2 separate regions of the Homo sapiens genome follow, and region 1 is linked to region 2. The links are contacts of gene promoters, found by promoter capture Hi-C in human tissues and cell types (Jung and others, 2019). All regions are on one chromosome and are shown on one strand. Each heading gives the region's core, a stretch centred on a gene start or on the middle of the fragment in contact. The rest is flanking DNA. Distances are from core to core; before and after follow the strand shown. Region 1 has its middle 30 kb from the start of FTMT. Region 2 holds the start of PRR16 (proline rich 16).

Region 1 (4,444 bases), core at 466-2,965, 1.4 Mb before region 2:
CAGTTTGCCTTTCTACTGTACTGTGCCGAAACTTTTTAGTTTCATATAAACCAATTTGTCTATTTTTGATTTTTTGTTTGTGCTCTTGGTGTTACATTCAATAAATCATTCCTGAGACCAAAGTTAAGAAGATTTTCCAGTATTTTCTGTTTTCTCCTAGTTTTACTGTATCAGATCTTATGTTCAAATCTTTAGTCCATCTCGAGTTAATTTTTGTATATGGTGAAAGATAACGGCTTGATTTTCTTCTTTTTCATGTGACTATCCAGTTTCTTCAATACCGTTTATTGAAGACACTACTTTCTCCCCATTGTGTATTCTTGGCATCCTTGTTGAAGATGAGTTGCCTGTATATGAGTGGATTTACTTTTGGACTCTTTATTCTGTTCTATTGGTCTATATGTGTATTTTTTTCAATGATAGTACCATACTGTTTGATTGGTGTCATTTTGTAGCATATTTTGAAATCAGGAAGTACGATGCCTCTAGGTTTGTTTTCTTGCTTAAAATTGTTTTGGCTATTTGGTGTGACAGGTTAACTTGTAAGTTTCGAAGTTGTTGAAAAATCTCACATCCTTTATAGATACAAAAAGTTAGAACTGATTTCCTTTTACAGAGCCAAATGACACTGCAATGTAGATCCTCAGTTATTATGTATCAATGACATAAGACCACATTGGTTTTTGTCCCCCAGAAGTGTTACAGGTTTAATATTATTATAATAAATATAACAAGAACAAGTGCAATGATTTAAATTCTGCCGGTGGAAATATTCCTCCAAGGATAATTGCATGCTGATTATTTTGCTGTTCTTCTGTTAACTTTTAAGCATCATTTGCTCCTAACTTTCCATATATAGCTCTACTTTGTCATTTTCACCTCTTCACAATGCTTTTCCTTTCAAGGCTCTTAGCAGACAAATCCCAGGAACATTGCAGAAGCTAGATAAGGCTATAAATACCCAAAGTATTTGCAGGGGAAGCTTCATGAACAACGCTGTGGGGAATCAAGCAAATGGCAAGAGTGTTCTAAATGCAATACTTCTGATTTCAGTTGTCTGTTCTGTCTTTTCTTTATTGGGACTGATTTCCACCATCTTATTTAACTGGAGGCCATCTTAAGATGAACCCATGCTGAGTATTTTATTGAACAGTATATGAAGTTAAAAGAAAAAAAAATGCATGCTTAAATGCTGTGTGTGTGTGTGTGTGTGTGTGTGTGTGTGTGTGTGTGTATGTGTTGTGGACCCACATTGTGTTTCTGCACAATACAGTAGAAAGGCAAACTATGGAGTGAGATAATTCTAAGAGAATAATTCCAAGAGAAGCTTGGGATTATTTTCCCAACCTATAATCAGCATCTTTCTTCATAAAAGGAGTTCTTCATATACAAATGCATGCAAGCTACAGTTCTTTGCTCTTAGTTTTACCTGCATTATCAGTTGCTATGAAATGTTCACTAACATTTTTTAAGTAAGCCTGTGAATCAGGGAGTGGGCTAAAGCATTTTTTCTGGTCATTTGGTTCTGTGCCAATATCAATTTCCCTTTTCATCATTAATTTCTTGAAGACAGAGACTCTGCCTTATTTTTCTTTGCATCTCCACATTAGACTGCATCTGCTCTGGAACTTAGTGGGTGTTCAGTACATGTTTATTTGTTTGAATTAATGAAAAAAATTGAATTAAAGCATAGTAAATGGGCACATTTTCAGTGGAACTATTGTCAAGAGAGAATTAAGAGAATGATTTACTCTAGGCAGGATAATTCTGTTCATTTCAAATATCCAGCTGCATTTTGAAAATGGGGCTTTAATCATCTTCATTTGCTATTTTTGTAATCTTTTAATTATTCCTCATATAACAACTCAAATAAAGAAATAATTATAGCAAACACTTACTGAGAGCTTATCAAGTGCCAGATATTTTTCTAAGCACTCTCTTTTACCTCATTTAGCCATCAAAAAGCTAATAGAACTATTAATGTTATGTCTACTATGCAAATAAAAAATGGACTATAGGAAGAATAGGCTTAAGGCCACACTATCAGCGGTCAGAACAATCAAATGTCCAATGAAGACTGCTTGATTCTAGGCCAGTGTCTTAATCAATACTGCCTCTTAGGCAGCAGTAAATGTATTAAAGATGATCCACAATTTGCTGCAACTAGCAAGAAGATGTTAAGAAGCAACTGAAATGCAAACTATTTTGAAACATTTTCTGTTGCAGCAAACTAGAATTTTAGCCTTAAAAGCATTGCTTTTTTCTTTATCCTTGGCAAATATTTATTTCCCAGACCTTCTGACTGGAGCCCATCAGACATGGAAACTAGTAGGGAGGAAAAATACACTGTGCTTGACCTGAGATTAAAGTTTATAAAAACGATGCCTCATAACAAGTGTTCAATAAATGCTTTTCTGATAAACTAGGGATGATATTAAGATTCTTAATTATCATATCATTTTAAACTAATCTATAATTCTAGTTTACCAACTTTCTTAGATCATCGCCCCTTTTTAGAAATGTATATCCAGCTCCGTTATACTATAACATGGATTCTGCAGTAAATTCTGTTTCTTTTGTATGTTATTACAGTCAATTAGGTGACTAACAAACATTTTCTGAAGGTGATTCACTTTAGAGTAATTCTATAAGTATATATAACACAGGCTAATTCTTAGAGTGGTATTTTTAAAACAATTAGATTAAGAATAAAAAATCCCAGAGCCTTGTGTGATTTTTTAATAATATTATGTAAGAAAATGAATTTCTTCAAAATGATAACTCTCATTGGGTTCTTATAGTTTTTAATTTTTATATATCTGATGAAGCTCAATAATTTTTAGATAGGTAGAATGCCAATTTAAATTTCTTTTAAAAATTTCAACCAAAAATATGAAATAAATTGATATAAGCATATTTTGGATCATCCAGATAACCACTTATAACCAAGGACTCAAGTAGGACTTGACTGTTCACAGTTGGTATTTGCCTTGGCTGTGCTTCTCAATCTTCACTCTACTGACATTTTGGACTTGGTAATTCTTTGTCATGGGGCTCTATCCTTGCATTTAGGATGTTTAGCAGAATATCTGTCCTCTGTTTACTAGAAGCTAGTATTCCTTCTTCCATTTTGTAACAATCAAAATGTCTCTGTATGCTACCAAATGTCCCTTGTAGGGCAAAATTGCCCTCATAGAGAGTTGTGCCTTGGTGAATATAATGTGTTTAAGCTAAGGGGTAGTTTAAATGTAGAATAATATTAAAAGAACAGAGGCAGAGCTTCGTACATAAATGATGCATCTAATACCAAGTAAAGGCCCAATTACAAAACAGTGCACTGCACAATTGAACATTTTCCAATAGTTTTAATAGAGAAGTCTTAGAATACTTGAATCATCAGATATCACAGGATAGCGTAAGCATTCTGAACTAAGATGACAAACCAGTGTGTTAAGTATCATCTTTACATTTTGTTGCAGCAAAATAGCATAATTTACCACACTAAATTAATGTTAATTTGAATTTTATTGCTTTTATAATTTTGTTTGTATATATTTATTTTGGTTTTAGAATTGATGTTCTAACCATAAGCTCTAAGCATAAGGAGTTTATACTTAGCTTTGTGTTTATACATATTGGACAAACAATAATAAAAATAATTTGTCAATACTAGGAAGCCTCAAAGAGCATTTTTTTTTACATTGAAATAGATTAGTACATTTCTGAAACTTGAGAAACACTAAATTTAGGGCATCTGAGGCTGGGTAGAGGGAGGAACAGCAGGTAAATAGGAAGAGGAGATCCTTGAAAAATTCGGGGAAAACTCCAGAGTTAGCTGCTGGACTTCTACTGTATGATTTTAATTTGTGCCAGCTATATAAGAAAAAAATCAATATTCTTTTAACTAGGTTATTCTATATTTTTCTTTTTGATAAAAAATAGTTTATTTTTTGCTCTGTAAACTGCCATGTGGAAAGCATGCTTATCCAAGCAAGATAATTTCAATTTTGATTCCAACTGAAGACATAGGAACTAGGGATAGAATTAGATCAGTTTTCAGATAGTTTTCAAAATTTATTATGTCACATTGTATAAACAATATATGATCCTCTGTGATTTTAGAGCAAATGGAACAGCTTCCCAGGTTGCAAAGCAGGCTCCTTTTACCTGTTGTGTTCTCATTCACATTATCTGTTATTGTTACCTTATGCCTCTGTTGGATTGATCTGCTCAAAATAATTTTAGGACTCTATTGCCCTATGCACCAAAGGTGCTAAAAGACCCTCTCCTTCTGTCAGAGGCCTGTGAACCAGAGCAACTCCATCTTGAATAGGAGCTGGGTAAAATGAGGCTGAGACTTACTGGGCTGCATTCCCAGATGGTTAAGGCATACTAAGTTACCAGATGAGATAGGAAATTGGCACAAGATACAGGTTATAAAGAC
Region 2 (4,544 bases), core at 318-2,817:
ATCCAAACAACCCTCAGTCTCCTCCCCGTTGGCTTCAGAAACAGGATTACAATTTTGGACCTAGACTACGCCCCACCCCTTTTCCCGCTGCAGCCACCGCCACCTTCGAAGTTCTAGTCTTAGCTCTCACGCAGCGGAGCTGCGGACTCCCTCACCGAGAACCGCACCAGGACCCCATTCAGTAGTGAGCGGCGCGCTGGGACTCTGCTACCAGCTCCGCGACGCCGCCGGCAGCCAGCCTGGCTCGGGAGACCCCACCCCTCCCAGCCCGGCCCCCGCCCCCGCCCGGAGCCGCCGCCTGAGTTACGCAGCCTCAGCCCTGACACCTTCTCTGCTTCTTTCCATCTGGATCACCTGGGGCTAGGGGCGGGCGGGAGTAGGGCTGAACCGAAGTGGGATAGGAAAAGCGGGGAAGAACCGAAGCAGTCCCAGCTGCAGAGAGCCAGGACGCCAATGGCAAGACCCCGGCCACACATACACTCTCCTGCGCGTCCTGCTTCTCGGGTTCAATGCCAAGTGGCGACAGGGTGGAAGGAAGGAAGCAGAGGTAGGGTGGCGGGAAGGCCCAGAGTTACTGGTAACGACGTTCGGAGGAGAGCAGGGGATGCTTCAGAAACTGAGAAAGTGAGAAAGTCCCAGACCCCCTCCTTAGCCCCAAGGCTGCCAGCAGCCCGGGTCGCCTTCCCTACAGCGAGGCTCGAGAGACAGGGAGGGTAGTCTGAGCCAAGCTTCCTCCAGGCTGCCCTCCCTGATCTGGCCCAGGGCCCAGAACCCGGCCCCTCTTCAGCCCTGACTTGGGGAGGCTGACAGATAGGCAGCGGACTTGCCAAAGGACTCTGGGGAAGCAATAGGGCAGGAGAGGAGCATCTTGCACGCTCCAGCCGGGCTGCTCACGACTTCCTCTGCCGACACACCCCCAGCTAACCCTCTCCCCCGTCGTCACACACACAGATTCAGAGACACGCGTGCGTTCATCCCTCCCACCAGCCCAGGTCCATCGATTAAAACACTAGTTGATTTCTTCCTGATTAAAAAAAAAAATTAAAAAGTGCAACAACAACTCCTCTCAGGACTCCAGGAGCAAAGAAAGTCCGTCTGCAGGCGCCTTTTCTGTAGTTTCCCAGGAGTTTGGAAATCTGGCTGTCCCTGCTGAAAATCGGAAAGGGGACCCCGGAGGGGTCGAAGGGTGCCGAACTCCCTCCCCACCCCTGCGCCTCTCACCTCCTTAAGTTCCTTGGCCACGTCCTTCAGGTCGCCCAGGACTAATTCCAAATCCTCCACGATGATCTTGATCTGTTCCTTCACCTTGGTTTTGGAGGCTGCCGGCGGTCCCTCGGCTGGACAGGACGAGGAGGGGTTCCCCTTGGACTTGGCTGACATTCTTTGGGGGCAAGCGAGGCAGGTCAGGACAGGCGGGCGAGCGGAGGCTGCTGCGTGCCCCCGTCCCTGGCGCTGCTACGGCCGCTGCCGCCCCGGTCCCCCCACATCTTGGGCGCTCCCTGGGCAGCGGCGAGTGGCTGCGCTCCGCGCTCGGCCGGGCGGCCGCACAGTGGTGCTGCCATCAACTCCCGAGACGCGGCGCTCGGCTCGGGGCTGCAGACGGGCGAGCAGCGCGCCTGCGCCTCCTCCCGCCGCCGCCCGGCGCTCTCGCGCACACGCGCTCGCTCCCCGCCCGCGGAGAGGGGCGCCGTGCTGCCGCGCCAGGGTTGACGCTTGCAGTCCCCTCGACGTTGCCCTTCGAGATATCTCCCAGATGCCACCTTGGCATCAAGGTGGGGGAGACAAGTCCGTGTCCTGCCCGCCCCCTCCTCTTGGTTCTGAAATGTCCCCATCATCTCAGCCTGCTTGCTGTATGTCATCTCACAACTAGCCTGGATTCTTTCTGCTTCACTTGCTAGCAGGGACCTGGATCAATTCAGAAAGAACCACAGTGGGATCAGGAGTTGGAGACAGTCTGTAAAGTGGCCCTACAGATTTATCCAAACCCAAATGATGTCCAGAGGCCTTTAATCAATCTCTTGGTGACCTGCGAGTTAAGCAGACTTCTTAACTTCTGCAAGAAAAAAGGGGGGGGGGGGTGCACATAACAGCTAATGGTCATCTATTGAAACCATGAAATTCAACCAGTGTTCTTGAAAGAGGTACCCTAATCCTGCTAATTCCACAAAGCTAATACCGGATTTATTAATTTGAAGTCCCCACACCCCAAATCCTCTCTGATTGTCTCAGTCATCTTGGCTGTATGTCTTATTTGGCCCAACTCTTTTTTTTTTTTTTAACTGTCCTTCCTCTTTTTGTGACCTATGCTGATTTACATTTTGAGTGGAGTGGGGGAGACATCGTATTTGGACCTCGTGAAGGAGCTGAGTAAGAGATTGCCTCCAACTTCTCTTTCATCATTTTTTAAACCTCCATTTCAACTCTTTTGCTACTAAACAAATAGGAAACAACTTTCTGACTGTTCTGTCAAAAAGACCCAAGAAGGGAAGTTAATAGGAAGCCTTCGGTTCACTCTCAGTAGGTGTCTACAATTCTCATTAGCTAGAATTTTAACTTCCTTAGTTGTAAACCCATGGGCTATTAGCTACTGACCCAGCAGGCTGGCTCTACTTTATTTTCTTCACTGCACACTCCTCCAGATCATTCTTTTAATAGGCTTCCCCTTTTCGTCGTGCCTTAGCAAGGCTCTCTGTTTCTTGCTTCTCACACTCTGGGTAGCTCCACTGTGCTACACATAAAGAAAAGCTTGGCAGCTCTCCTCTTCCCAGTTCTGTAGGCTCTTAATCAATCACTCTCTTAATCCTGGACAATTCATCTTTACAAAACCTTTGGAAGTCATATGTGGAATATAGAGGAAGAAAGAGAACAGAAGAAAAAATTGAAATTTGAAAGTGGTGTCAAAAGAAAACCATTGAAAACTGCATTGAAAAATCAGGGGAAGAAATGAGAAAAGGTGAAAAGCAGATGCTGCTGGAAAGACTTAAGAAGAGATTATAAGAACAAGTCTGCAGCATGCAAACTGGAGAAAAGAAAAAGAGAAGAAATGATTAAAAGTGTGAAATAAGTAATATGCTTGAGTTCTCTGAGGTAGGGAGAATTAGATTTTTAAAACATCCTTTTTCTCCTCAAATTCTTTATTTTATAAAAAATATAACATTAAAATAATTATATCAGGTTTACAGACTCCCCAAAATTGTCAAAACTAGCAAAAGCTAATGGTAGGGGAAAAGAGAAAGTACTATTCTTCTAGATTGGAATTATTTTTGACTCTTAATAGTAGGCAAGTGTGTAAGAAAGCCGCCAAACTCAAAGTTAAGTGACTTTAGACAAGGATATGGGAGAGGAGGAAAGGAAATTGTGATTTCCCTCACAGTGACAAAATAATCCTCCCACAATATAAGAAGATGTCCATGCTACTCTGAATCTCATTCACTAAAGATTAAAAAAAAAAAAACAAAACAGGCTAGGCACAGTGGCTCATGCCTGTAATCCCAGCACTCTGGGAGGCCGAGATGGGTGGATCACAAGGTCAGGAGTTCAAGACCACCCTGGCCAAGATGGCAAAACCCCATCTCTATTAAAAATACAAAAATTAGCTGGGCATGGTGGCAGGAGCCTGTAATCCCAGCTACTCAGGAGGCTGAGGCAGAGAATTGCTTGAACCCGGGAGGTGGAGCTTGCAGTGAGCTGAGATCGTGCCAGTGCACTCCAGTCTGGGTGACAGAGCGAGATTCCGTCACAAAAACAAAACAAAAAAAACTGTTCTCTTCTGATACTCTGATATCCACTGCTGCTACTGAAACAAATAATTCTGACTTAAAATCAAATCATAATTATTGCTTAGAAACACACCACCCACACCCATATCACAGTTCACTCTGAAATAATCACTATCATCTATCTATCTATGTCTTTATACAATATAGAGTTAACTGAATAGGGAAAAGTTAAAATTGGCTTCCAGGCCCAAACTGAGAAAGCTGGTAGGATTGCAGCAGTGGTGTCTGTCCCTATCTTCTAGTCATTAAGGATCACTTAAAGCAAATCTCCATAAAATATGTCTAAAGAAGAAACTTTTATAAAGGGAATTATAAATATTGAGGAGAAGAAGACAGAATAAAAAGGGCCCATGAATATAAATCAAGTGTATTTACTTCCTATTTTTGTATTACCCTATGGAAAAATCTTTCATTCCTTTGGGTAATCCTAGACTCTCTCAGAGATCAGTATATAGGATGTTTTAGACTCCAGTTATAGAGACCAAACAGCAAAAGTGACACCTAATAAAATTTCTGGTAAATCTTTCTGTAAGTTCGTTAATGTACTAGTGCTAGCTGCAAATGTACACAACCAAACCACATTACTTATAAACTTAGACAGGATAATACATTTCTAAATAAAGGAGAGTCTTACTCATTTATAGAAGTGATTGCAAACCCAGGATTTTATTCTCCCTGTCTCTCTATTCATCATTTTCTGAGTTTTGTAACAGGAAGAATTGGATAATTACAGGAGATCATCTAGGTTTTGTTTCTTTAGTTACA

What was found. The method cuts DNA at HindIII sites, captures the fragments that hold promoters and counts their contacts. A contact is called where the count stands out against the background at its distance.
Region 1: a fragment that was not itself captured here is called in contact with the fragment with the promoter of PRR16 in region 2 in 1 of the 25 tissues and cell types used here (dorsolateral prefrontal cortex).

What each region holds. Positions count from the first base shown.
Region 1 is chr5:121,879,916-121,884,359 of GRCh38, reverse strand. No RefSeq gene overlaps it. Among named protein-coding and RNA genes, the nearest start is that of FTMT, 30 kb to the right of the region's middle. The HindIII fragment of the contact is 3,804 bases long and covers 1-3,617 here.
Region 2 is chr5:120,461,323-120,465,866 of GRCh38, reverse strand. PRR16 (proline rich 16) reads right to left here and starts at 1,567. Exons shown (of 2, transcript NM_001300783.2): 1 at 1,222-1,567. The coding sequence starts at 1,380. RefSeq lists an enhancer at 692-1,193 and a silencer at 1,599-1,648. The HindIII fragment of the contact is 4,324 bases long and covers 1-4,046 here.